Linked DNA regions of Homo sapiens: region 1 is linked to region 2. Evidence: promoter capture Hi-C in 16 types of primary human blood cells and fetal thymus (Javierre and others, 2016). All regions are on one chromosome and are shown on one strand. The core of a region is centred on a gene start or on the middle of the fragment in contact, and the rest is flanking DNA. Distances in the headings are between cores, read along the strand shown. Region 1 overlaps SPNS2 (SPNS lysolipid transporter 2, sphingosine-1-phosphate). Region 2 holds the start of LINC01996 (long intergenic non-protein coding RNA 1996).

What was found. The method cuts DNA at HindIII sites, captures the fragments that hold promoters and counts their contacts. A CHiCAGO score of 5 or more calls a contact.
Region 1: a contact is called between a fragment that was not itself captured here and the fragment with the promoter of LINC01996 in region 2, in 2 of 17 cell types (M1 macrophages and M2 macrophages). The highest score is 6.6, in M1 macrophages.

The regions. Positions count from the first base shown.
Region 1 is chr17:4,515,742-4,519,440 of GRCh38, reverse strand. All of the region lies in intron 2 of SPNS2 (SPNS lysolipid transporter 2, sphingosine-1-phosphate), which reads right to left. Among named protein-coding and RNA genes, the nearest start is that of SPNS2, 19 kb to the right of the region's middle. The HindIII fragment of the contact is 193 bases long and covers 2,353-2,545 here.
Region 2 is chr17:4,608,143-4,611,810 of GRCh38, reverse strand. It overlaps LINC01996 (long intergenic non-protein coding RNA 1996), which reads right to left and starts at 1,362. Exons shown (of 2, transcript NR_145431.1): 1 at 978-1,362. It overlaps SMTNL2 (smoothelin like 2), which reads right to left. Exons shown (of 8, transcript NM_001114974.2): 8 at 3,492-3,668. The HindIII fragment of the contact is 12,447 bases long and covers 1-1,522 here.

The sequences.
Region 1 (3,699 bases), core at 1,200-3,699, 93 kb after region 2:
GAAAGCCAGTGCTGTCCACCTCTCACGGCAGCCCAGAGCTCAGAACCCCCACGGGCCCTCGGTGTCCTGGTGGGCAGCCCCAGGACCCCTGTCCATGGTGAGCGGAGCCATCCCCATGGCACACATGGCCTGTATGACCCCAGAAAGCAGTTTTGGAGCAGGAAAGGGCAAGTCTGAGCTTGAGGGAGCCCTGAGCCCCCGCCCTGTGGCCTTGGAGCCTGCATTCAGCCCTTGCTTCGGCCTGGGCTGAGCCACGGCTATTTTTACATGGCTGATCTGTTATTTGGAGAAGACCTACCATCCTCCACATCCTGTGGGCAGGGAGGGTGCTCAGGCAGGCATGGGTGGGGCGGGGGCCAGGCTCTGCCATCCAAGGGACGGCCTGGGCTGGCCAAGCTGACGGAGAATGCTCAGGACAGATGGCCCCATCAGCGCCTGAAAGCTCACCACGCTCAGACTTCCCGGTGGAAGGACGGGAACACCTGCTCTGTGATCCCCTACTCAGGATGTAAACCTTGTGTTGGGCTCTCAGGCCTCAGGGTGAATGAGGTTTTGGGGCCACTCCTTGAAAAGGAGGGCTTTGGGGAACAGCCGCAGGGGCTGCCCGGCTGTGCCTTCAGAACCCAAGTCTGCTGAAGCAGGAGTCGCTGGGCTGGCCAAAGACGGGAGGGGAGAACAGGCAGAAGGAGACTTACCCCCAAAACAGAGGCACTGTCTGGTTTCGGTTTGAGCTGGCTCTTCCTCTGTCCCCACTCTCCCTCCGTTCCCCCATCCCCATCCTGGCACTTCCTCGTGAGCCTACAAACCCCGGCCCTGAGTAGCCTTCAGCTTCCTCTGCTGCCCCTTCCCACACTTGGTCCCAGAATGAATATCCTGAGACACACATCTTTTTTGTTTGTTTGTTTTTGTTTTGTTTTTGAGACGGAGTCTCGCTCTGTCGCCCAGGCTGGAGTGCAGTGGCGCGATCTCGGCTCACTGCAAGCTCCGCCTCCTGGGTTCATGCCATTCCCCTGCCTCAGTCTCCCGAGTAGCGGGATTACAGGCACCCGCCACCACACCCGGCTAATTTTTTGTATTTTTAGCAGAGACGGGGTTTCACCATGTTAGCCAGGATGGTCTCGATCTCCTGACCTCGTGATCCACCCGCCTCAGCCTCCCAAAGTGCTGGGATTACAGGCGTGAGCCACCGCGCCCGGCCCGAGACACACATTTTACACGGACTGCCCTGTTCCAAAACCTTCTCTGGCTCCCTACTGCCCCAAGACAAAACCTACATGCCTTATCTTGGCCTTCAAGCCTTTCACACTCAGACCCTGCCCACTGTCCAGCCTCTTCTCCTTCTGTTCTCCCCATACGCCAACCCATGGCCAATGGGCCACAGGCCACTCGAGTCAGGCAGTGCCACAAACAGCCTTCGTTCTCCCTCACCCTTCCCTGTGTTGCATTGACGCTGATTTCCTCAGATCTAGCTTCTAATTCACTTTTCTTTTCAACTAGGTGTAGTCTACTCATTAACTCACCTAATTATTCCATTTTTTATTTTAATACATATTTTTCACTTCTGGTATTTTCGAATATTAGTCTTTTAAACATTTTCCGGTTCTCTTTTCATAATGTTCTGTTCTTGTCTTACAAGTCCTATCCTTTCCTTTAGAGCTTTGAATATTAAACACACCTAATTTTAAAGTCCCTTTGTGACGAATCTGTTTTCCCATCTTCAGGGTCAGCTGACTCCCTCTCAAAAAAATGAGGGAGAACTGTATGCTCTATTAATTTTTTTTTTTGAGACGGAGTCTTGGTCTTGTTACCCAGGCTGGAGTGCAGTGGTGTGATCTTGGCTCACTGCAACCTCCACCTCTTGGGTTCAAGCGATTCTCCTGCCTCAGCCTCCTGAGTAGCTGAGATTACAGGCGCCCACACCATGCCCAGCTAATTTATGTATTTTAGTAGAGATGGGGTTCACCATGTTGGTTCAGGCTGGTCTCAAACTGCTGACCTCGGGTGATCCACCCGCCTCAGCCTCCCAAAGTGCTGGGATTACAGGTGTGAGCCACCGCGCCTGGCCTGCTCTATTAATTTTGAATTTGAGTTTGTCTTCAGTGGAAATTGTCCCGTGTCCCATGCAGGCTCTGGGTCATGAAGAATTCCCTAAGGAATGGTTTGGGATTTGCTTCTGCCAGGGTCCCTGGAAACAGAGGGGGCCTCTATGGGGAAGGAAGTGGAAGCCCCAGGCCTGTACGGAGCAGGGGCTGGAACTAGCCAGCGCCAGGTGGGAAATGCCCATTCTCGAAAGGGAACTCTACCAGAAAAACTACCCAGCAGCCTGGGGACACAGCTTGGAATCAGGAAGCTTGGATGGAAACAAAATCACCCACGGTTAGAACGAAGAAACCCCAGGCCCGGAAACTGAGCCAGGCGGGCGTTCCCTTGATGAATCTGGGTGATGTGTTCTATGGAAGTTCGTTGCGCCATTCTCACTACTTTTTATGTCTGTTTAAAATTTTTCATGATAAAAATGTTTATATTGAAAATACCGTAACAAGCTTCGAAGACGTTTATCTGGTCCCTAAACACTCTGCATCACTTGGCTTCAATTCTAGCTCCCACTCCGGTTTTTGAGTTCAGCTCTCTGCTTCTGGCATCTGGGAATTTCCCTGCTAGCTTTAGCTGTCAAGCTCAGCTTTGTAATTTCAACATGTTTTCTTGGCATATTTTATCTAGCTTGGAGGGGAAAGGAGGGCTTCACACATCTACTCGATCTCACACACTGACTACAAACTCTAACTCATCCTTCAAAGCCCCATTCAAACGTCTCCTCCTCAGGGAAGTGTTCTCCGCGGCCACCGGCCAGAGCTAGGTGCACGCTCTCTGCCGTCCACCCAGGCTCCCACAGCCCCCTGTGCCTGGGTGGTGGCTTGATGATACGTTTTCTGCCCCCATAGATAGAGGGAATCTACCTGAGGGTAAGAACTGAGTCTGGGCAGAGCCCAGCACACGGCCTGCCAGGCAGTAGGTTCAGTGGCAGCTGCTTCTCTAGGTGTAGGCCATGGGGGCTCCTGATTTCCCAAAACAGCAAAACCTATGAGCGGTTTTTTTGTTTTTTTTTTTTTTTTTTTTTTTTTTTGGGGAGATAGAGTCTCACTCTGTCACCCAGGCTGGAGTGCAATGGCGCAATCTGGGCTTACTGCAATCTCCGCCTCCTGGCTTCAAGCGATTCTCCTGCCTCAGCCTCCCGAGTAGCTGGGATTACAGGCATCCACCACCACACCTGGCTAATTTTTGTATTTTTAGTAGAGATGGGGTTTCACTATGTTGGACAGGCTGGTCTCGAACTCCTGACCTCAGATGATCCACCTGCCTCAGCCTCCCAAAGTGCTGGGATTATAGGCGTAAGCCATAGGCGCCCAGCCTATGAGCTGTAATTCTGCTGTGGGCTTTCAGAGAGCCTGAGATATGGCTCCTGCAGGGGGTCCAGGGGCCAGGTCCAAACCAGCAGCCATCTAATCTGCAAAGGGGCTGCTGAAAGTGGGCTCATCCTCAGCAGTTTTCCTGCCTGGTCCCAAGAGGGAAACAGCAGGGGCAAGCCCAGGCCTAACCCTCAGCCACCCCCACTCCCTGTCTCCTGGCCCAGCAGCCCCTGGTGCCACAAATAAGCAGGCAGCCCAGCTCTCAGCCCTGGCCCTTTGATCTGGGCAAGCA
Region 2 (3,668 bases), core at 113-2,612:
ATTTTTTGTATTTTTAGTAGAGACGGGGGTTTCACCGTACTAGCCAGGATGGTCTCGATCCCCTGACCTCGTGATTCGTCTGCCTCGGCCTCCCAAAGTGCTGGGATTACAGGCGTGAGCCACCGCGCCCGGCCAGAAATACAATTTTTTGAGACAGAGTTTCACTCTTGTTGCCCAGGCTGGAGTGCAATGGCTCAATCTCGGCTCACTGCAACCTCAACCAAATTGAGGTAAAACACTCAATTTGGACATCCACAGACTCCCCAAAGTCCTGGGCTATGAACCCTAATGTAGAAGAAGGAGCATAGAGCTTAGGTCACAGCACATAGGAGCAACAAGCCGAGGAGAGGAGGCTCTAATGAACAGAGGAGGGAAAGCAACAGCCAGAGAGGAGGGCAAGCCAGGAAGAGCCTCGGCAGCACAAATGCCACTCAGTCTGCAAACCAGATAAGGACGCTTGCACTGGGAGTGATTAAAACTCAGATCCCCGGCCGGGCGCAGTGGCTCATGCCTGTAATCCCAGCACTTTGGGAGGCCAAGGCAGGCGGATCACTTGAGGTCAGGAGTTCGAGACCAGCCTGACCAACATGGTGAAACCCCGTCTGTACTAAAAATACAAAAATTAGCCTGGCATGGTGGCGGGCGCCTGTACATCCAGCTACACAGGAGGCTGAGGCACGAGAATCGCTTGAACCTGGGAGGTGGAGGTTGCAGTGAGCCAAGATTGTGCCACTGCACTCCAGCCTGGGTGACAGAGTGAGACTCCGTCTCAAAAAAAACAAAAACAAACAAAAAATCAGAACCCTAAAGATCGATTTTATATCCACCTACGTGACAGTAAGAAAGCTGGATCAACTTCAGGAATGAAGGTGGACAGTCAAGACCTACGGTAACACTGTCTGGTGTCTCTCTGGTGCCACCACCCACATCACCTGCCTCTGGTTCAGGGCCCCTTCCCAGCTTGTCATCCCACCTACCTGGACCTTGTCCCTCCAGTGAAGGCTGCCCGGATGCCTCAGAGAGCACAGCCTTCTTAGCTTCATTCTTCCGGAGTGCTTTTCCTTATTTGGTGCTTTCTAGGGAGTAGGCAGGTCAGGTCTTAGGGATTTTTCTTTCTTTCTTTCTTTCTTTTTTGAGACAGGGTCTCACTCTATCTCCAGGCAGTGGCACAACCATCGCTCACTGATGCCTTGACCTCCCAGGCTCAAGCCATCCTCCCGCCTTGGCCTTCCAAGTAATGGGGACTACAAGCATGTGTCACTACACCTGGCTAATTTTAAAACTTTCTGTAGAGACAGAGTCTCACTCTGTTGCCCAGGCTGGTCTCAAACTCCAGAGCTCAAATATTTGTCCTGTCTCGGCCTCCCAAAGTGCTAGGACTACAGGCATGAGCCACCGCGCCCAGCCTAGGAATTTTTAAGGTGTTCTTTCAAAAGACTATGAGGGCTGTTTGGTATCAAAGCAAGTCCAAGAACCAAGAGATAAGAGATCAAAAGCTCTAAAAGCAAACCCAATCCAAGCTTTAAAAGTGAGAGAGATAAGATGGCTCAGAAATAATCATACTGGGTCCATTTATCAGGTGGTTGGGAGAGCACAGCTAACAGAGGGAGAAAAAATAAATCAAGTGGGCCACGTCCACAGGCGTAATCAACTCATCAGAATGAGTTGGTCACCTGTCACCAGCTAGAAAAACCCAAGCCAGAGTTGGTTCTGCTGGACTGGTAAGATGTCCCACCCCAAACTGACCAACTGAATCAGCATTTCTAGTCTTCTGTGCAATTGCCTGCAGTCGTATAGACCCGGTCATGATGGCAGAGAATAAAATCTTCTCTCACACCGGTCTCCAGTTACAGAGTTCTGATCACTGCAACCGGGAAAGCTGAGAACTCTTCATCATCTAGCACATTTGCGAAATTCATTGGCTTTAACAAACTGTTCCCCAAACACCTGGCCTGTGCGGTCTCCTCTCACCAGCATGTGCTCTGTCATATTCAGAAAGTGCTTATAGGCTCTCGCTTGCCTTGAAAAATATCCATCAGCTATCAGAAAAGCTAAAACCCATCGTGGCTCTGGTGAAACGTTCACTTCAGGGAAACACACAAGCCAATTTGGTCCGACTTAATAAGTTTAACAAAATCCAGGTGAAGGAATCTATCTGGAAAAACAGAAGACTCTTATGAGCAGCTCCAAGAAATAATTCTCTCGGGAAAGGGGAAAAAAGATGTGAATTCCTCCATACCAGGGTAGAAAGCAAGATGAAATTGGGTCTCACAAATGGGGAACATTCACGTAACCCCGACCTAAAACGGTGGTTTCCAAATATCTTAGGATTGTGAGACCTTCCTGGATTTTCTTCTCATGCTTTGTCTTAGAGGTAAAATCATGTTTGAAACTCACAAACTGTCTTATGATCTCTCACCCCCCACCCCCAACAAAGACCACAGACAAGAACATCATGGAACCAACTTTAAAAACTCGAGTCTGTCTCATTCTGAATGTGAGACATGAGGGACACCATTCCTAAAGTTTAAAAGAAATTGTTCTGCATTCTGGCAGGATCTGCTCTGTTTCATGCGCAGAGCGTACGGCCATGTCTGCAACTCGGGAGAGCTCCATTTAACGTGTGCGAGGACTCAGTAACATATAGCCATGCTTTTTACAGAGCCCTTGTGTTCCCAGATTGGCTTCAGGTTTGAAACCCTAACCTTCAGTTATGTGTCCTGTTAATAATAGGTCTCACCTCCCCAAGCGTACAAGAGACGAGAGAGCTAGCAAGGGAATGGTTTCCAGAGTGGGAGAATCCGAGAGAGAGGGCAAGACTGCAGCCTGGACCAACCAATCCATGGAGAATACTGCTCACCCACCTGCAGGCTCTGCCATGTTCCTCCTGACACCCCCAGGGATCTCCTGCCCACCCCCCAATATACCACCCAAGGGACACGTGGGACCCCACAAAGGCACACAGGCACTGGTGTTGAGAGCCGGCTGCATGAGGTGAAGACACAGATCCGCTCCTTAAAGGGAAGGTTTAGAAGTGCATGGCTAAAATCCAACCCAATTATACAATGATTCTTGGCTGAGAATAAGCTAATGGCTGGAGCTCTATAGAATCTCAAGATTTTTCTATGAAAGTCCTACCACCAAACAGCTGTGAAAATAAACCAACGTTCCTTGATGGGCTTCCTCCAAGTGCGGGACCACCCCAAACCCTGCTGTCTTGGGCCACTGTTTATCACAAACACTGCGGTCTACATCCAGAGGACGGATCTCAAGGGGAACTTTCTGTTGACGCTCCTTCCACAACATGGAGATGGGAGACAGGCACACTCAGAGATGATCAGAGATGACAGCAAATGCCATCTTCAGCTTTCCAGGCCAGTGATTTAAGTGCAGGAACAGGGGTGGAATGTAGTGGATATTCACTTGGAAGGTGTGCAAAGTCTCTTATTCACAGAACTCCCATCTCCTAAACAGAAATGACAAACCCCAAGCAAAATTCAACACATCTTTTTTATGTATAAATGGGTCAGTGGTACAGAGGGAGTTACTTTTTATAAATATCTGCAGCAAATCCCCTAAAAAAGATGTGAATAAAAACTCTCTCTCAGCACAAAGGGCCTATTCCTTCCCCAAAAGTGTTAAATTCCCGAGAGCCTGTGCTTAGCCAA